7 separate regions of the Homo sapiens genome follow, and regions 1, 2, 3, 4, 5 and 7 are each linked to region 6. Evidence: promoter capture Hi-C in 16 types of primary human blood cells and fetal thymus (Javierre and others, 2016). All regions are on one chromosome and are shown on one strand. Each heading gives the region's core, a stretch centred on a gene start or on the middle of the fragment in contact. The rest is flanking DNA. Distances are from core to core; before and after follow the strand shown. Region 1 overlaps HYCC2 (hyccin PI4KA lipid kinase complex subunit 2). Region 2 overlaps ORC2 (origin recognition complex subunit 2). Region 3 overlaps HYCC2 (hyccin PI4KA lipid kinase complex subunit 2). Region 4 holds the start of ORC2 (origin recognition complex subunit 2). Region 5 has its middle 6.1 kb from the start of FLACC1. Region 6 holds the start of CFLAR-AS1 (CFLAR antisense RNA 1). Region 7 overlaps HYCC2 (hyccin PI4KA lipid kinase complex subunit 2).

Evidence for each region. Contacts are between HindIII fragments. The CHiCAGO score rates a contact against its expected background, and 5 or more counts as called.
Region 1: a fragment that was not itself captured here is called in contact with the fragment with the promoter of CFLAR-AS1 in region 6 in 6 of 17 cell types (neutrophils, erythroblasts, activated CD4 T cells and 3 more); the score reaches 13.0 in neutrophils.
Region 2: a fragment that was not itself captured here is called in contact with the fragment with the promoter of CFLAR-AS1 in region 6 in 15 of 17 cell types (erythroblasts, neutrophils, megakaryocytes and 12 more); the score reaches 20.6 in erythroblasts.
Region 3: a contact is called between a fragment that was not itself captured here and the fragment with the promoter of CFLAR-AS1 in region 6, in 6 of 17 cell types (neutrophils, erythroblasts, activated CD4 T cells and 3 more). The highest score is 12.3, in neutrophils.
Region 4: the fragment with the promoter of ORC2 here is called in contact with the fragment with the promoter of CFLAR-AS1 in region 6 in 14 of 17 cell types (neutrophils, megakaryocytes, erythroblasts and 11 more); the score reaches 16.0 in neutrophils.
Region 5: a fragment that was not itself captured here is called in contact with the fragment with the promoter of CFLAR-AS1 in region 6 in 4 of 17 cell types (neutrophils, activated CD4 T cells, non-activated CD4 T cells and 1 more); the score reaches 11.5 in neutrophils.
Region 7: a fragment that was not itself captured here is called in contact with the fragment with the promoter of CFLAR-AS1 in region 6 in 11 of 17 cell types (neutrophils, erythroblasts, activated CD4 T cells and 8 more); the score reaches 14.7 in neutrophils.

What each region holds. Positions count from the first base shown.
Region 1 is chr2:200,981,871-200,984,570 of GRCh38, reverse strand. HYCC2 (hyccin PI4KA lipid kinase complex subunit 2) reads left to right here. Exons shown (of 13, transcript NM_001321623.1): 13 at 2,700. All of the region lies in intron 1 of LOC105373835 (a long non-coding RNA gene), which reads right to left. Among named protein-coding and RNA genes, the nearest start is that of ORC2, 20 kb to the right of the region's middle. The HindIII fragment of the contact is 2,788 bases long and covers 44-2,700 here.
Region 2 is chr2:200,920,359-200,923,228 of GRCh38, reverse strand. It overlaps ORC2 (origin recognition complex subunit 2), which reads left to right. Exons shown (of 18, transcript NM_006190.5): 14 at 2,090-2,236; 15 at 2,836-2,870. Among named protein-coding and RNA genes, the nearest start is that of NIF3L1, 32 kb to the right of the region's middle. The HindIII fragment of the contact is 5,097 bases long and covers 1-2,870 here.
Region 3 is chr2:201,018,872-201,021,571 of GRCh38, reverse strand. The region is part of intron 4 of HYCC2 (hyccin PI4KA lipid kinase complex subunit 2); the gene reads left to right. It overlaps LOC105373835 (a long non-coding RNA gene), which reads right to left. Exons shown (of 3, transcript NR_187976.1): 3 at 2,502-2,700. Among named protein-coding and RNA genes, the nearest start is that of HYCC2, 51 kb to the left of the region's middle. The HindIII fragment of the contact is 3,143 bases long and covers 1-2,700 here.
Region 4 is chr2:200,962,407-200,965,209 of GRCh38, reverse strand. ORC2 (origin recognition complex subunit 2) reads left to right here and starts at 1,550. Exons shown (of 18, transcript NM_006190.5): 1 at 1,550-1,720. LOC105373835 (a long non-coding RNA gene) reads right to left here and starts at 1,778. Exons shown (of 3, transcript NR_187976.1): 1 at 1,580-1,778. RefSeq lists a silencer at 1,141-1,539 and an enhancer at 2,248-2,317. The HindIII fragment of the contact is 10,169 bases long and covers 1-2,803 here.
Region 5 is chr2:201,362,113-201,364,812 of GRCh38, reverse strand. It overlaps a transcript of FLACC1 not described here. Among named protein-coding and RNA genes, the nearest start is that of FLACC1, 6.1 kb to the right of the region's middle. RefSeq lists an enhancer at 897-946. The HindIII fragment of the contact is 2,414 bases long and covers 130-2,543 here.
Region 6 is chr2:201,156,500-201,159,199 of GRCh38, reverse strand. It overlaps CFLAR-AS1 (CFLAR antisense RNA 1), which reads left to right and starts at 1,408. Exons shown (of 7, transcript NR_040030.1): 1 at 1,408-1,445. The region is part of intron 8 of CFLAR (CASP8 and FADD like apoptosis regulator); the gene reads right to left. RefSeq lists enhancers at 680-1,009, 1,030-1,109. The HindIII fragment of the contact is 4,248 bases long and covers 1-2,700 here.
Region 7 is chr2:200,998,632-201,001,470 of GRCh38, reverse strand. The region is part of intron 7 of HYCC2 (hyccin PI4KA lipid kinase complex subunit 2); the gene reads left to right. The region is part of intron 1 of LOC105373835 (a long non-coding RNA gene); the gene reads right to left. Among named protein-coding and RNA genes, the nearest start is that of ORC2, 36 kb to the right of the region's middle. The HindIII fragment of the contact is 2,498 bases long and covers 187-2,684 here.

The DNA of each region.
Region 1 (2,700 bases), core at 188-2,687, 170 kb after region 6:
AAACCTATGAAAAGTCTTGGTAATTCTGAACTCTGCTCAAGCTTTTGGATTAACATAGATTATTGACTAGTTTTCTGCTATGATGGCTTTAAATAATTTTACAATTAAAATTGGGTTTATTACATGTTGAAATTGAAGGGACAATATAAGCCCATCACTTACTTTTCTCCTGATTGTCAAGTACATTCTATTTATGACTTTTAAAGCTGGAGTTAAGATTATTACTAAACTGGCCAGGCACGATGGCTCATGCCTATAATATCAGCACTTTGGGAGGCCCAGGCAGGTGGATTGCTTAAGCCCAGGAGTTTGACACCAGCCTGGGCAACATGGCAAAACCCCATCTCTACAAAATATACAAAAATTAGCCAAGCATGGTGGCAGATGCCTGTAGTCCCAGCTGCTTAAGAGGCTGAGGTGGGAGGATCACTTGAGCCTGGGAGGTTGAGGCTACAGTGGGCTGTGATCGTGCCACTGCACTCCAGCCTATACAACAGAGTGAGACCTTGTCTCAAAAAAAAATAATAAAAATAAATAAATGTTTTTAAAAATTATTACTAAACTGAAGATAATACCTGTGATTAAAGTACAATCAGTATTCCATTATATATACTAAGCATTTCTTAGTATATAAAATATCAGTAGATTCTCTTGCATGGTGGCTTTTATGTTATCATCTTTTTTATGGCCATATTGCTTGGGCATCAGATCTGCATGTAGCAAGATTCAGAAGCTAGCACTAAGTCTCTCAGTCTCCTTTCCTAATAAATATACCTAATGATACATTTCTGTTCACTCCCAGTTTTATATCACTAATATCAATTCTGACCCAATAACTATCCTTTCTTGGGCATTTTGGAGTTCTTTATACTAATTGTAAGTAAATTACTAAAATGTATCATATGAATATAATTTAAAGTTTTTATTTTGAGGTACATTATAAAAGTACATTATATACAGTTCTTTTGAAGAGGTTGAGAGAAGTGGTGTCAGCTGCTACTGTTCTTAGTAAATGCATTTTCATATGGCTTTGCATGATGATTAAAGATTATTAAACTGCTGGATATAATAAGGTGCCTTTTGCTTTAAGGATAGCTTATTTCATTCTTTAGAAGGAAGAAAATAATCCATATGAGTAAATATAGCTAAGTAAATAGTTTATTTTTCCAGGTGCTATGTTAAATAAAAGATTGTGTTTAAATATTTTGTATATATTTTGCTTAGGTAACCTATATCTCTAATATTTGTTTAGATTCTTTCCTAACATTTTTACCTTACCTGTAATGTTGATATCTGTTTTGTAGATTCAGATTAAACTTTACAGAAGTCTGGAAAATGTATTTAATAGGTAGCAAACCAATATGAGTTATTGAAAGAAGCAAATGTATTACTTTCTAAGAGAATATTCATCATACTTTCAGTAAGAGAATTGGCTTTCTGTAAACTGCAAGCTCAGTATATTATATATTCTTCTCTTCTTCCTACAAAAACCCAAGATAAGAATTCTGTTGTTGGCCGGGCGCGGTGGCTCATGCCTGTAATCCCAGCACTTTGGGAGGCTGAGGTGGGCAGATCACTTGAGGTCAGGAGTCGGAGACCAGCCTGGCCAACATGGTGAAATCCCATCTCTACTAAAAATACAAAAATTAGCTGGGCGTGGTGACACACGCCTGTAATCCCAGCTACTCGGGAGGCTGAGGCAGGAGAATTACTTGAACCTGGGAGGCAGAGGTTGCAGTGAGCTGAAGATCGTGCCACTGCACTCCAGTCTGGGTGACAGAGCAAGACTGTCTCAAAAAAAATAAATAAATAAATTATTTTGTTAACTGCAGTTTCTGCATGAAATGAAATGTGATGGGACACTATCGTATTTTGTGATTATGACAATACATCTCAATACTAAGAATCTAAAATATAGAAATAATTACATAAAATATTATCAAAACATACCATATAGAAAATATAAATCCTTAAATACCCCTGCTGGTTCCCTACCACTGCTCTCTGATATTTTCTTCACATTAATTGATCAAAATATGGAAACCAGTGAGTAGAAAAGGCCATAGACAAAATATGACTGTGAAGTTACAGAAGCAATATAGTTTTGAGTTATTTAAAAAATTTGCTAGTTCCATGTTAAAGGTTCTAAAACCATATAGAAGCAGTTAACCAACCACTGAGTAAATATAAAATTTTATTATAGTTAAAAAGAGTTTGGCCTGTAAGCATAAATGGGTTTTTGGTATAATTCTGGATAACTGGAATTAGAAGAGGGTCTCTTTTGCACATCTTATGGTGGGTTAAAGAAGGTATGAGGGGAAAAGTTTTTTTTTTTTTTTTCCAGTAGGTAGATATGGTCATTTCAGAAGAAGAATGATAGTGTATTATAAAAATTTATGTTAACAAACTGTTGTATTTTACCTAGTCGTTTTACATGCCTAAATATTGACAGTATACTAGATATGTTTGTGGATAGTTGTACAAAAACTGGACTAAATAAAGCTAAACTAACATCTATTAGCATAGTAGAATTCTGTGTAGATTAAGATTTCCCCTAAATTATTTAGGGGAAGTGTTGATAGTAGGGCCATTGACAACCTATAGCGAACATTGCCCAAGAGATAAGGTCAGTGTTGTTATTCACAGCTGCTTCTTATTTAATTTAGCTATTGCTGAGTCTGTCTGATTTGTTTTCTTAGG
Region 2 (2,870 bases), core at 100-2,599, 240 kb after region 6:
ACAGAAACACACATAAAACAAAGTTATATATTGAACCTAACCCTGTATTTCCTCTGGGAACAGTGGTTCAGTATTCAATAATTCAGGATTTGCAGCAGCATAGAACTTAATGTAATGAGAGTCAAGTATATATTTCCCAGAACCCTAAAACTACTGCATATGTGAACATATCTTATTCATTGATTATGTGGGCATATAGTGAATTACTAGCAGGTTATTGTAAGAGAAACAAATCTGTTTGGTTTGTTTTCAGTTCTTTCAACCTTATTATTTAATTAAAAATCAATTGCTGCAATATTTATTCCTATAATAATTTTGCCTTGTTTTTCTGAATTGTCTTTAGTTTTCAACATAAGTTCTCCTACTTAAAGAATAACAGAAGCATTGCTTTTTATTCCCTTACCACAGATCCTTGTAAGAGCCCAGTATTGTTCGTATGCTCATTAAAATAGATGCCTAAGTCACTTTATATTTGTGTGCGTCTGTGTGTATACATACGTTTGGTTTTGGGTGTTTTTGGTTTTGATACTGTTAAATATGATGACGTCTAGATTTCAGGGAACCTGGGATTTTCACAATGTGTCATCTCAGAATCTTTGTCACTGTATTGTCTCTCTTACCCATCTACCCCCGAGTAGAAGAGAAATTAACTCACTCTCTGAAAGACTTATACTCTATCACGTATGCCAAGTCTCCAGAGAGACTTATCAATACCTGTGGCTTTTAAATATACATTAAAAATAAAAGTTACCTGATTCTGCTGCCCTTTCACACTATTTTATTTTTCTGTTTCATACGGTTTCAGTATTTTGGAAGACATGTCCTGCCTTCAATTTTTTTTTTTTTTTTTTTTACCTATTTCATTCTAATGTCTTTCCTCTGTGCTATCAGAACTGTATGCTTGATCACCTGTAACTTTCTTCTTACCAAGCCCAGTGACCTTGGCTCATCCTTTATCTTGATCTCTGCTGTATTTGATAGTGTCAACAGCTCCATCCTCTAAATTCCTCCTTCACTGACTTTTATAATTTATCTGAACTTCCTGATGCCTTGAGCAGTATCCTAACCCCCACCCCCCACCCACTCCTTTTTTGGTCTCCTTTGGCTTTTGTGATAATCCGGGTTTTCTATATAATCTCTGAGAGCATTATATATAATGCTTTCTGAGAAATCCTTTGGTTTTTTTGGTATCCCTCCACTCCCACAGTGTAATAAAACATGCACAGATTCACCTCCAATCTATTGTATACATCTTGCCTATTTCCCATGCCTTATTAAAGCTGCTTTCTTTAGGCTGAGCACGGCGGCTCACACATGTAATCCCACCACTTTGGGAGGCCGAGGCGGGCAGATCACTTGAGCTCACGAGTTCTAGACCAGCCTGGGCAACATGGTGAAACCCCATCTCTACAAAAAATATAAAAATCAGCTAGGTGTGGTGGTACACGCCTATAGTCCCAGCTACTCGGGAGGCTGAAGTGGAAGGATGGCTTGAGCCCTGGATGTCAGGGTTGCAGTGAGCTGAGATCACCCCACTGCACTCTAGCCTGGACAACAGAGCCAGAACTTGTCTTAAAAAACAAAACAAAACAAAAAGCTGCTTTCTGTAGGGCCTGACTTCAGTGCTAATCATGTCTATTTTATGAGTAAATGACATATCTTCTCAAATAAATTACATACCCCTAAGCAATCATTATTTTATCCTATACTACTTTATTTTTTAATACCTAGGCATTGTGTATGGTAGAGGAAATAATCACTGAAATATCACTAAAAATAATAATTGCAGCTGGACATGGTGGTTCACGTCTGTGATCCTAGCACTTTGGGAGGCCAAGTTGAGTCCAGGAGTTCAAGACCAACCTGGGCAACTTAGTGAGACCCCGTCTCTACCAAAAAAACAATTAGCCAGGCATGGTGGTGTGCGCCTAGTTCCAGGTAATCGAGAGGCTGAGGTGGGAGGATTGCTTGAGTCCAGGAGTTGGAGGCTGCAGTGAGCTATGATTGTACCACTGCACTCTAGCCTAGGCAACAGAGTGAGACCCTCTAAAAATAATAATAATAATAATTGGATTTCTTTTCTTTTTAGATTCTTCTTTAGAACTCTTCCTTCTCATCCACAATTTGGATAGCCAGATGTTGAGAGGAGAGAAGAGCCAGCAAATCATTGGTCAGTTGTCATCTTTGCATAACATTTACCTTATAGCATCCATTGACCACCTCAATGCTCCTCTCAGTAAGTTAATTGTTACTATTTTTCCTTCTAGAGATATCAGTCTTACAAGACAAATTCTATTAATATAAATCAGAAAATTTTTACTGTTTTTAGTACGCTTTTTCCCCTTTTACATGTTTAAAAACACAGGTTGCCAAAAAGATGTTCTCAATCTAATTTAGAACATAATTTTTGGAAATAAAAATTCAGATACTAAATGAGGATGTTTTAGTCTAAAGTTAAATGGAGGGAAAAGACCCAACTATTATTTTGGTCTCTTTCTCTTCTTGTAATATCGCAACATTTATTTTATGAACTTAATTTATAGACTTTCTGATAATCCTGTAGAAGAAAATGTTAAAACATTACTAATTTTTTAAAAAGAATGCATTGGTAGTGCTAAGATTTTAATTTATGCTTAATTGAAAATAAAGGTTCAGATGTTGGTTGAAAATGAAATTAGATTGTGAGTTACTGATTTAGATATGGAAGTGGCAAAAATGAAAAACTTGGGGATTCATTTTTATTTAATCCTTTCTCATTCTTTTGTAAAGTGGAATCTAGTAACATGACAATATAAAAATAATTTGTAATTCTTGTTTTCTTTGATCATGTGCTAGTGTGGGATCATGCAAAGCAGAGTCTTTTTAACTGG
Region 3 (2,700 bases), core at 166-2,665, 140 kb after region 6:
AGTACAAAATGAGATTCTAAAATGACATTTTCATTAGGGCTCACAAGTGTATAAGAAGTATCCCTTTCCTATTTTTTTGTTTAATACTTTAGAAGCTATTACATTAAAAAAGCTATTCTCATTACTTTCTGTTGTCATATTTCGTAATATTAATGTGTGGGACTTTGGGGGTTTCATGGCTAGAAATGGAAAAATTACAGCTTGAGGGATGCGAGCTCAAGGTCCAGCATTCATTATAATCAATCAGTTGCTAGAGGAGGTCTGAATTTCTCTCCTGTCTCCTGTCAGGTTAGAAGGCTCTAACCATGTGTTCAGACTTCAGAAAAATAGAATGATAAATTCTATAGAATTTCAAAACAATTCTGGACTTTAGTCATAGAAGGAGGTCCCTTTTAATCCTGATTTTGTTATATTCTGAAAGAAACAAACATACTATTTAGGTTACAAGAAATTATTTTAGAAAATTGTCATGTGCCATATTTAGTATGAATTAAACTTAAAATAGTTGCCGGCGCAGTGTCTCACGCCTGTAATCTCAGCACTTTGGGAGGCGGAGCGGAGTGGATCATGAGGTCAAGAGATTGAGACCATCCTGGCCAACATGATGAAACCCCGTCTCTACTAAAAATACCAAAAATTAGCTGGGTGTGGTGGTGCACGCCTGTAGTCCCAGTTACTCAGGAGGCTAAGGCAGGAGAATCGCTTGAACTTGGGAGGCGGAGGTTGCAGTGAGCCGAGATTGCATCACTGCACTCCAGCCTGGCAACAAAGCCAAGACTCCATCTCAGAGAAAAAAGAAAATATTTGGAAACTTTCATATTTTCAGATTCAAATCTACCATTCTACAGCACTCTCTTGCCTTTTCTGGTGTTTAGTGGGTGAAATATCTCAGGTTGTATGAAAAGCCATCTGTTCTACTTAGGCCTGGATTCTGTCTTCTCTAGCTACCTTAAGGACTCTGGTCCTGCAATTATTCCTTCTCTCTTCCATCACTGATCTTTTTTTCTTTCCCTGATGAGTGGAATATGATAAACAACCATATTCTATTCTCTAAAAACTTTATTTCAGCTTACCTCCTATTATATTATCTACCCCATTTCTCTGTCCCTATTCACAGATGAACTTCATAAAATATTGCTTATTCATAGCCTCTGTCTACTTGTCTCCATTTCTTCACCTCACATTCTTTAACCCACTCAAGTTAGGCTTGTTCATTATTCCATCCAAATACTCTCAGTGTGTTCATCAAATATCATGTCTCTTAGTAATTATCATGTCAAAACAGTGTTTGCTAAATTTGGGAATGGTGTCAGTTATGATTTTTTCTAACCCAAGGATGATGATTTTTAATACTTTTTGATGTGGGTGGTGGTGCCATTTAAGGGAGGTCAGAATCATTTATATTAAGAATTTGAGAACATGGTGCTTGCTATGAGACATATGCTTCAAATTAAAGTTTTTTTATTGTTTGTTTGTTTGTTTTTTTCTGAGCCAGGGTCTCACTCTCTCTCCCATGCTGGAGTACAGTGGCACCATTATAGCTCACTGTAACCTCAAACTCCTGGACTCATGTGATCCTCCAAACTCACCTTCTCAATTAGCTACAGGCACATGCTACCACACCCTGCTAATTTTATTTTTTATTTTCTAAAGACAGAGTCTCACGGTGTTCAAGGCTGGCCTTGAACTCCTGGGCTCAAGCGATCCTCCCACCTTGGCTTCCCAAAGTGCTGGGATTACAGGCATGAGCTATTGAGCCTGGCCACAATTAAAGATTTTAACACATAGCATTGGCAATTTTTCTTTTTTTTTTTTAAGACAGGGCCTCACTTTGTCACCCAGGCTGGAGTGCGGTGACTTGAACACAGCTCACTGTAGACTGAACCTCCTGGGCTCAAGCAATTCTTCTGCCTCAGCCCCCCAAAAATAGCTGGGACTACCCAGGTGCGTGCCACCACACCTGGCTAATTTTTGTATTTTTTGTAGAGGTGAGGTTTTGCCACATTGTGCAGGCTGGTCTGAAACTCCTGGTCTCGAGCCATCAGCCTGCCTTGGCCTCCCAAAGTGCCGGAATTACAGGCGTGAGCTACCACACCTGACCAGCGAGTTTTTAACGGTCTTACTTTGTAGTAGTATCTGATTAAAACTTACTGGATTGCCAACATCTACCCCCCATTCGCTTACAAAAAACACAGAGTAATAATGCTGGTAACCCTGTATTTCTTCACTGTGCTTAGTTAAAATATAGTGTCCCACATGCCAGTGTACCTGTTGCTACTGAGAAAGAGGAGTTTAAGGTCTTCATAGAAGAAATTCATCATAATTGTACCATGGCCCATAAAGTTTAGAGAAGGCAATCTTTGGAGAGTTTTTTACTAAAGAGGAGATTGAGTTTGAAACATGAGTATAAATTTTTAGTAAACAAAATTTGTGAGAGCAACAGTTTTTTACTTCTAAAGAACTGAATATTGCTCTCAATATTTAAGAAAGATGCCAGCAACTGACAGTTTCCAAAAGTTTATTACTTGTTCATTATTGGCACTACATAGAATACACTGTTTTGTGATTAAACAATCTATACCTCCATTCTAATATAAGAAGTGCGGTAGAGTGGAAACATCAACTTGATGTCAGAAGACCTGAATTTAGTGTCTTATTTCACCATTAACTTCACCAACCTTTGACAAATTGTCTGACTGG
Region 4 (2,803 bases), core at 301-2,800, 190 kb after region 6:
ATGCACAAAAAATTGCCTTTCTCTTCCATTTTCTTAACTCCACCTAGCCAAAATGGAATAATGAGGTATCAAGGCTATGATCATTTCTTTCTCAACTGGATTTCCTAAACAGCTCCCAAATCTTGTGACTCTATATCTTCCCTCCCAATCCTACCTCCTTTATCCAAAGATCTTTCAATACAAATCTGACCAGTGCCCTAAGGGCCAACTAAGCCCTTCATAATAACAGACCCAATGCTTGGCATTTTACACAGCTGTTACACGGATTTGGACCTTCTACCTGGAAAATTTTACCCCTCTTGGCCTGTTTTAAATCTATTCAACACAGGGGTTTCAGTTTAAACATCTCTTCCTCCTAGAAAATTGTTCCTGACTCCTTCTGGGCTTTTAATTAGCTACTCCTACCATGTGCTCCAATGCACTTCCCATATCATGGTATTTTTCTCAATATTGTCCGTTCAATATCTTCACGTGCTAGGTAACTACAGTGAATGCAGAGATCGTAGTTGTCTCGCTCGATAATGAATACTTATCTTCTGTTCGCAGAGTACTCTGTAGTTTTGTTTTGAGTAAGTGAATCCAAATGAAACAATACCCTGTTCTTAATACTGTATGGATCCCATCCAGGTTCATTCCTTTTCTTCCTCATTTTCTCTGTCTTGTCTTTTTTATATTTTGGATAGTTGAAGTCAATCATTTTCTCTGTCTATTCATTCTATTTCCCCAGCCTCTTCATCCCACTAGCCGTCCGATCCCATCTCCATATTCAGTGCTTCTCCTAACGTCTCTTCTTCTCCCTACCCCAAACCCTGGAGATGTACAAGATCCTACCTTTCACGCCAAATGAAGAAAATCTTTAAAAAAGAAATGCGAATCAATTTCCATTACCTTTTTCTTCAAAAGGTAGCTGGGAAACCAATGAACACTTTTTTTTTTTTTTTTTTTTTTTTTTGAGACGGAGTTTCGCTCTTGTTGCCCAGGCTGGAATGCAATGGCTCGATCTCGGCTCACTGCAACGTCCGCCTCCCGGGTTCAAGCGTTTCTCCTGCCTCAGCCTCCCGAGTAGCTAGTATTACAGGCATGCGCCACCACGCCCGGCTAATTTTGTATTTTTAGGAGAGACGGGGTTTCTCCATGTCGGTCAGACTGGTCTCGAGCTCCCGACCTCAGGTGATTCGCCCGCCTCGGCCTCCCAAGGTGCTGGGATTAGAGGCGTGAGACACTGCGCCCGACCCCAAAGAACACTTTTTAAAGATTGCTACAAGACAAACAGCTACCACTCAGCCAGCTACTGTGCAAACTTCCTCAGATCCAAACAACACTTCCTTTTCCCTTCCCCGGAAACGGAAAGAAGAAAGGAAAGGTAAGGCCCACAACTCAGGGCCCAAGAATCCGTTTTCCTCAGGTTTCCTGATGGGCGGGGCCGAATGGCCGGCGCCGACTGGACGGCAGAGCCGTCGCTCTTGGCCGACTCCTCTTCCTATTGGCTTCCTCGGGCACCGCCCCCTGAACAGGGCGGGAGATTCGGTGTGCCGCACGCAGGCTTCCCATCCCCCAGCTGGCCTCCGGTGCTCCTTACCTCCCCGGTGGTCGGGCGCGAATTACTGGAAATTGGCTTTTCCCGTTGGGGCCGAAGGTACCTTCCCTGCGGCGGCGACTCAGCGGGGTGTCGTTCGGCCGGCGTGACGCAGCCGGATCGGCGCCAGACGGAAACCTAGCGGTGAGTAGTGGGGTGTCGGGGCAGCCTGCCTCCCTTTTCTGCTTAGCTCGCGGCGTGTGAGGTGCGTCCAGGTGCACCCAGCCCCGCGTCGGAGCTTGGCCCCTAGCGTCCCAAGTCGCGCATCTCAGGACTTTCCCTCGGCACTTGGGGCATGGTCTTTGCGCCTCGCTGCCCCCCGCAGGCTGCCCGGGGGCTCGAGAACCCTTACTGGTGGAGCGCAGCCAACTGGCCAGAGGCTGGAGGCGCAGGCCAAAGTCCTTTAAGACTTGAGGTGAGAGGCTCACTCTGGGAGGACCTTTCGTTAGTCTGCCCCGCAGTTATAGGCCTTTTGTGCAAGGGACGCCTGATACTAACCTACCTGATTCCCAGCTTACGAAGCCCTCTGGTTGGAAAAGGAGAACTGTGAAGATGTGTAACGACAGTGGTAAAGTGCCCTGTGAGGTATGAAGAGGAAGAGATCGCGTCCCAGAACCACTGTAGCTAGAACCTTTGATGTCATCCCAGCCTGGAGGCACCAATGTGTCCTGCCAGCTAACTGATCGGTCACCTTGGAGCCATGCTTGGCTGTAAAATGTTGATAAGCCAGGCTCTTTTGGTAGAGCTTTTTAATTAAAAAGATGTTGAGACGTTACTTTTCATTTTACAATTGAAATCCTAATAGAATCATTACACTTTCCCGCAGTTAAATTGCAATCTGAAGAAAAATAGCACGGCCCTACACCGTTATATAAGGGCACTGCACGTTAAACGGACATCATCACTTATTGAGCAGTTTTTCTGTTAGATGTTGAATGAGTTAGAGATGTACAAGAGATCTGCATGGTTAAGTTGAAGTTTAAAGTAAAAATATCTCAGTGCACTGCAGTAAGGAGCTAAAAAAGAAAAAGGTTAAAGTAAAAATACCGATAATTGGGAGCATTCAGTGATGCTCTTTTATATATCAGGCACATCATTTCATTTAATCGTCAGGACTTTGGACAAAGTCACACAGTTATAAAGTATGGAGTGGAGATTGGAACTCAGGTTTCTCCAATATTAAAATTGGTGTTTAACCACTAATCTATCCAACCTTCTTTTTCAAAG
Region 5 (2,700 bases), core at 87-2,586, 210 kb before region 6:
TTCTCAAAGCCTTTGTTCACCTTTAAAAATTATTTTTTCCTTATTTTTGTGTAACTGAGTTAGCTCAAAAGATCAGTCTTCAAGCTCTGAAATTCTTTCTTCTGCTAGGTCCAGACTATTGATAAAGCTTTCAATTGTATTTTGAAATTCCCTGAGTGAGTTTTTCAACTTCAGAAGCTCTGATTGATTTCTTTATAAGATGTTTATCTCTTGCTTCATTTCCTGGATTGCTTTAGAAGTTTTGTGTTGTTGATTTTTAACCTTGACTTGGATCTCATTGATCTTCCTTGTAATCCATGCTTTGAATTATTTATCCGTTCTTTCTGAGTTTCTATTTTGGCTATAGACCATTGCTGGAGAGCAAGTTTGATCCTTTGGTGGTGTCACTATATTGAGATTTTTCATGGTGCCAGAATTCTCGCACTGATTCCTTCTCATCTGGAGATGCTGGCATTTTAATTTTATAGTATTTTCATATAGGTTAGGATTATTTATTTTTCCTTCTGTCCCTATAATATTATTGGGGTTTTTTTTCTTTCCCTTTCCCTTTTCCCCCCTCTCTAGGGAGTGTGACTATAAAGAATGCTGGGTAGGGTCTTTTGGCTTTGCTTCTATAACCCTATTCACTTCTGTCAGCAGGTTTTATACTGGGCTGTGCAGTTCAACCTACAAACCAGTAGATGGTGCTAATAGGTAAGAGCCTGCTATGGCCAATGTGACTGAGTATATACTTGATCCTTGTTTATGGGGAAAAGCTCTGTTACCTCAGGCAATGAGCTGATTCATGGGGTGCATAGTGGTCTGAGCTCCCTGCTCAGACACAGGGAGGGAGGGGCCAAAATGAGCAGAGCTGGACTAGGCAGGTCCAACTACAGGTCCCCTGATGGCAGGTACAAGTACCAGCACTGAGGGAGAATGCAGTGGGTAGCCACTACCAAGCACCCAGAGATGCTTGGGAAATTTCCTCGACCCCAAGTTCCCTGCAAAGGGATGGGGGCGGCTTAAACTAATCCAGTAGAGTGACTGCTCCAGATGCCTGGAGCTCTATCTAGGCATGGAGCCCCACTGCACCAGGATCTATGCACAGGAAGGGTGAGGTGCTCAGGCTGCTGTTCCAGGCAAGTGAGTGCTCTAAATGCCTAGAGATCTGCCTGAGCATGGAGGAGAGAGGGCCCCCCATACCAAGACCTCTGCGTAGGAGGGTTTGGGTGACTCAGACTGCTGATCGAGGAAAATGGGTGCTCCGAATGCCTGATGATCTGCCTGGTCATGGAGCAGAGAGGGCCTTGCTGCACCATGATCTATGTCTTGGAATGGGGAGGGGCAGCGGCTCAGGCTGCTGAACCAGATGAGCAAGTGCACCTAATGCCTAGAGATCTGCCGGGGTGCAAAATGGAGAGGGCTTTCCCACACCCAGATCTCTGCACAGGAAAGGTAGGGCACTCAGGCTGCTAGTCCATGTGAGCAGGTGCTCCAAATGCCTGGAGATCTGCCTAGAGTTGGAGTGGAGAGGGCACCCTTGCACCACAATCTATACACAGGAAAGGTAGGACAACTCAGGCTGCTGATCCAAGGAAGGGGGTGCTCCAGATACCTGGAGATCTGCCTGGGTGTGGAGCAGAGAGAGCCACGCTGTACCACAATCTATGTCCATGAAGGGTGAGGCAGCTCAGGCTGCTGGTCCAGACAAGCAAGTGCTCCAAATGCCTGGATTTCTGCCTGAGGGTGGAGCAGAGGGCTCTGCTGCACCACAATCTCAGGGGAGCAGGCTGGGTCACCCTGCAATGACATATGCAGACTAGTTCCAGGTTACCAAGCTAGCCCTGGCTGCAAGTCTCATCACACAGGAGAAACTGCAGCTGTAGCAGCTCTCCTCCCACCTCAGGCCTGCAAAGCGGGAGAGCACAATCCCTGCACCTACTACTGAGGCTCTTTGCACAGTTCTGGCTATGGAGACTCCTACCCTAAGCCAGAGCAGGTGCTCCAATTGCTGACCCAAGACTAAAATGCCTGTGTGGCCACACTGCTAGGTCACCAAAGAATGCCTGGATTAAAAATGGCACCCTGCTTTCAGTCCTGAGTCTGGGAAAATGTTTGCAGCTTTTCTCTATGTCTTTTCCTCACAGTGTTTCCAAGCCGCTTCCCCAAGTTAGCTCCAGAGCTTGCGAGAAACAAAGTGCTCTCCCTCAGCCTGGGTTGCCTGGATCCCAAGTGGAAAGGTGAGTCATAGAGGGAGGCTGTCTGCCTCTCCCATGTACTAGGGCTTCACTCATTTTTATCAGCTGCATGCCATCACTGGGGCTGTTTGTCCACATTCTCCTCCCTGGCATCTGGGGTGTCCTTCACAATTCTAGTGGATTCCCATTTTCCTTTTTGGATAAAAACCCACAGAGATGATCTTTACACACTATCTTGCTATTTCCAAGGAGCCAAGGCACACTGAAAGACTCTAATCTGCCATCTTGGAAAAAAAAAAGAAACTGTTTTTTTAAAAAAACTCAGTATCCATTTAGAATTATGACCATCTTGTGAGAAATGAAGCTTGAGACTCTACTTTGATATCAAATTTAGTGCTATTCTCATCATCTTTAATTGTGTTTTCTTTCACAAATGACTACTAGTGGATGTGTTTAAGTCCAAAAAACCTTCTGATGAGGTTTAAGATTTGGGGCTTTAAGCATCCTGTTGACTTCTATTGTT
Region 6 (2,700 bases), core at 159-2,658:
TAACCCATTAAATAGTGAGGGCAACCAGCCCCAGTGGCTCACATCTGTAATCCTAGCACTTTGGGAGGCCGAGACGGGCAGATCACCTGAGGTCAGGAGTTCGAGACCAGTCTGGCCAATATGGTGAAACCCCGTCTCTACTAAAAATACAAAAATTAGCCAGGCGTGGTGGTGCTCACCTGTAATCCCAGCTACTAGGGAGGCTGAGACAGGAGAATTGCTTGAACCCGGGAGGCAGAGGTTGCAGTGAGCCAAGATTGCGCCACTGCACTCCAGCCTGGGCAACAGAGCAGAACTCCGTCTCAAATTCAAATAATAATAATAATAATAATAATAATAATAATAATGATGAGGGCAAATGCCGTTACAGGATCTCTGGGTAGCTGTTATCAGGACTGTAATTTTGCACAGCCTTTTTGAAGAGCAATTTGGGAGTATCATTAAATTTTAAATGTGTATACCCTTTATAAAAAAAAGAAAACTCTGTGTGGTAGAAGAGGCCTGGACGCACTGTCCCCTAGCCATCTCCTCTGAGGGTGCAGGCTTGTTTCGATACCCAGTGCTGAATCCAGGCTGAACAAGGAGAGAACCTGGACTAGGACTCCAGTTCCATCACTGCTATTCTATTCCAAAGGACTCACACGTCTCTAATCATGGAGTATTTGCTCCTCCAGGGGGCAGAAGCAAACAGGGAAACACCAGACTCAAAGCTCTTTTGTGTACTTATCTCAAGATTGGTTCACTTCCCTCAAAACCTCTCTTCACTGATAAATGTCCTTCCTTATCAAACAAAGTCCTTGAAAGAAAACTTCACCACATTCTCCCTGCCCATGCTGATATGTAAGGCTTGGACAGAACAAATGCTGTACTGTGCCTTCCAGCTCTTTCCTTTATTTGTGCTCCCTGGAGGTTCTGGCTGGGGAAGCCCCTGTCACATGACTGTGAGCAGACAGCTGTGTGGTGCAGGGCAAAAGAGGAACCAGCCTTGGAATCACAAGATGTGGGTTTAAGTCCTAGTTCCTCCATCTCCTCCTACTAGGGTCTGAATCTTGCATGGTCTTGGAAGAGACTGAGCTATAACAGCAGAGAAGCTAGGAAGGAAATGGGAATCTGAGGTCTGGGGCAGAAAATCCTTACCTAAAAGAACAGAAGAAAAATGGCTAAAGCTGGAGGTGAAGCCAAAAACCATGCAGGTCCCAAGTGCCAATAAGAATAGCAGGTCTGAGCCTCAGACAAGACACAGCATTGCTTAAATATCCTGTGGCAAGGGAGTCACTCCACAGGCCCAGCCTGAAGACATTACCGCTGACATTTCCCATTAACGTCACAATTTTCCTCTATGAGGTGGTGAGGTGGAGTGGGAAGGGCTGTTAGCTGGCACTTGCAACTTTATTGCGCCAGCAAGAACATGCATACAGCCCAGTCTAACGTACAGGATCAAAAAGGTAATGACAGTGTGACTTTGAGTCAGTTTGAGTCAGCCCCAGTTTATTCATCTATAAAACAAGATTAAAACTAATGCTTGGCCAGGTGCAGTGGCTCACACCTACAATCCCAGCACTTTGGGAGGCTGAGGTGGGAGGATGGCTTGAGCTCAGGAGTTTGAGACCACCCTGGGCATCACAGGGAACCCCGTCTCTACAAAAAATAAAAAAACTAGCCAGGCATGGTAGTACAAGCCTGTAGTCATCACAGCTACTCAGGAGGCTGAGGCAGGAGGATCTCTTGAGCAGGAGGTTCTTCAAAAGGTGACTGTGAGGGCAGGGTACAGTGGCTCATACCTGTAATCCCAGCACTTTGGGAGGCCAAGGCGGGTGGATTGCTTGAGCTGCAGAGTTTGAGACCAGCCTGGGCAACATGGCGAAACCCCATCTCTACCAAAAATACAAAAATTGGCTGGGCATGGTGGCACGCATCTGTGGTCCCAGCTACTTGGGAGGCTAAGGAAGGAGGATCACTCGAGCCCAGGAAGTGGAGGAGCCAAGATCGCTCCACTGCACTCCAGCCTGGGTGAAAGAGTGAGACTCTGTCTCAGAAAAAAGGTGACCGTGAGGATCCAATGAGATTTCTGTAAAGATGCTTTGCAAACTGTGTTTATTCAAATATAAGATATTGACTTTAAAGGAAATAAAGGCAGCCATTTCAAAGTACAAATCACCAACCTTATGGTGTTGCACATCTCTCATGGAATCTCTCTCTTAGGACCTGGAGGGAGGTCTCTATATTCTAAACTAAAATGGGCTCAGAGCAGACAGAGTCCATATCCTATGTAGGTAGGACAGTAACTGTTTTGTCCTTGCACATAAATAGAGGAAGAAAAACTTGGGGGCTGGGTTTGGAAAATAAAATTTCAACAAACTACAGAAGACCCACTTCTCCTTCTAGAACCCACCCTGGAAATCCCACACTCAACCCAGTCTGATCTCCGTAAATTTCAACTGTTCTTTAGAACTTCTGGAAATGATGTGGGGGGGTGGGGAGGGGAAGGGCAGGGGTTCTTCTGGCCTTGCAGTTAGTACAGGGCTGTTCATTCAAGGCTAGGGTCAGCACTACTCACAGGTTTGAGGACTTCACAGATAAACCAAAAAAACCAAAATACAGTAAAATGTCATGACTTCATTAATTTAGAATTTGTTTTGATCTAAATGAGGATACATTTATCTTGACAATTTCTATGAAAAGGGCTTCATTAAATAAATG
Region 7 (2,839 bases), core at 186-2,685, 160 kb after region 6:
TTTTATTTATCCATTCATCAGTGGATGGACATTCGAGTTATTTCTATTTTTTCTTTTTTGGCTGTTATGAATAACTCTGCTCTCTTTAGTCTATTTGGGCTGCTATAACAAAATACCTTAGACTGGGTAATATATAAACGATAGAAATGTATTGCTCACAGTTCTGCAGATTCGAAAGTACAAGCTTAAAGTGCCAGCAGATTCAGTGTCTAGTAAGGGCTCATAGTCTCTGCCTCATAGATGGCACCTTCTAGATAATCAAATGTAGGAGGGCAGAGCTGTCATGACCTAATCGTGTCCCAAAGGCCCCATCTCTTTTTTTTTTTTTTTTTTGAGACAGAGTCTAGCTCTGTCACCCAGGCTGGAGTGCAGTGTCACGATCTTGGCTCACTGCACCCTCTGCCTCCTGGGTTCAAGTGATTCTCCTGCCTCAGCCACTTGAATAGTTGGTACTACAGGTGTGCAACACCGTGCCTGGCTAATTTTTTTTTTTTTTTTTTGTAGAGACAGGGTTTCACTATGTTGGCCAGGCTGGTCTTGAACTCCTGACCTCAGGTGATCCACCTGCCTTGGCCTCCCAAAGTGCTGGGATTATAGGCATGAGCCACCTTGCCCAGCTGCAAAGGCCCCACCCTCTTAATACCACCATATCGATGATTAAGTTTCAACATGAATTTAGACCACAACAGCTGTTTTGAACATGCATTCACAAATTTTTGTGTGAACATACATTTTTCAGTTCTTTTTAGTATATACCTAGGAATAGAATTGCTAGGTCATATGGTAATTCAACACTTAACTTCTTGAGGAACTGTCATGCTTCTTTCCAGAGTAGCTGTACCATTTTACGTTTCTACAACAGTGTATGAGGATAGCAGTTTCTCTACATTCTCACGCTTATTTTCCATCTTTTTTATTGTAGCCATCTTAATGGGTATAAAGAGTGATATGGCATTCTGGTATTTACTTGTTTTTGCTGTATGTTTTAGTTTTTTATGTAGCCAACTTTATCAGGAATACACATACATTTTTTTCCCCAAAGCTAAATATGCTTTAGCTCTGCATATTTTTCTTTTTTTCTTAAGACAGGGTCTTGCTTTGTTGCCCAGGCTGGTGTGCAGTGGCATGATCATGGCTTACTGCAGCCTGCACCCTAGAACCCCTGAGCTCAGGTGCTCCTCCTGAGCTCAAGTACTCCTGCCTCAGCTTCCTGAGTAACTAGGACTACCACCATGGCCCGCTAATTAAAAAAATTATTTTTGTACCAACAGGGTCTCAATATGTTACCCAGGCTGCTCTTGAATGCGTGAGCTCAAGCAATCCTCCCTGCCTCAGCCTCCCAAAGTGCTGGGATTTCAGGAATGACCTACTGGACGGAGCCTCCTATTTCTTTTTTTTTTTTTTTTTTTTTTTGAGACGGAGTCTTGCTCTGTTGCCCAGGCTGGAGTGCAGTGGCATGATCTCAGCTCACCATAACCTCCGCCTCTCGGGTTCGAGTGATTCTCCTGCCTCAGCTTCCCGAGTAACTGGGACTACAGGCGCGCGCCACCATGCCCAGCTAATTTTTGTATTTTTAGTAGAGATGGGGTTTCACTATGTTGGCCAGGCTGGTCTCGAACTCCTGACTGTATGATCCGCCTCGGCCTCCCAATGTGCTGGGATTACAGATGTGAGCCACTGCGCCCAGCCCTTCTATTTCTTTATAGTCTCTTTTTCATCCTAGTAGAGTTCCTTAGATGTCTGGCAACCTTTTTTCCCTCATGTTTAAGAATAGGGGAATAGGCTGGGTGCGGTGGCTCACGCCTGTAATCCCAGCACTTTGGGAGGCCGAGGCAGGCAGATCACCTGAGGTCAGGAGTTCGAGACCAGCCTGGCCAAAATAGTGAAACCCTGTCGCTACTAAAAATACAAAAAAAAATTAGCCAAGTGTAGTGGTGGGCACCTGTAATCCCAGCTACTTGGGAGGCTGAGGCAAGAGAATGGCTTGAACCTGGGAGGCGGAGGTTGCAGTGAGCCGAGATCATGCCATTATACTTCAGCCTGGGTGACAAGACCGAGACTCTGTCTCAAAAAAAAAAAAGTGGGGAGAGGGAATAAAAAATGAGAAGCTCTGACCATGTTAATATATGGCTGATTTGAGCTAGTATTGGTGCAAAAGTTATTGTGGTTTTGCCATTTAAAAAATTTTTTTTAAAGTTTTGCACCAACTTAGTAACTGACTATAAACTTCACCATAGGATCCCACTAGGCCATTCATTTGGAAAATTTCCCAAGTCCATATCTTTAAGTCTTTCTTCTTAGAGTGGTCAAATTCCCTAGAAACAACTCTTCTGGTATCTTAACTAGAGATCTTTTTGCTAGTATTTTGGTGGCAAACTGGCAATATCTAGGCAGGTATATTTCACTTCACTTAATCTTCCTATTTTCAGTTTGGCATCCACCCCCATCACAGCTAGGGCTCCCAGGTAGAAATTAGTTTTTATCCTTTCAGAGAATAAATCTCCATTCTTTTACCTAGATATATGGAGAAAGTGAAGGGATCTGAAAGTATGGCTGCTTCCAGATCAGACTTTCAGCTTGATTTTTAACTTTTCATTTTGAAATAACTTCAGACTTACAAAAAACATTGCTAAAATAGTACAAAGAGTTTCCATAAACCCTTCACCATTCATCTATGGGAAGCTTTTTAGAGGTACAACTTCCCTAGTTCCTACCCGAGGATTTAAGTGGGTCAACTGGGTTAAGACATAGAAGTGTATGTTTTTAAAAAGGTCTCTAAATAACTAATGTGCATCCAGATTTAGGAGCCACTTTCTTAGACATTATAAATGTTAGGAAA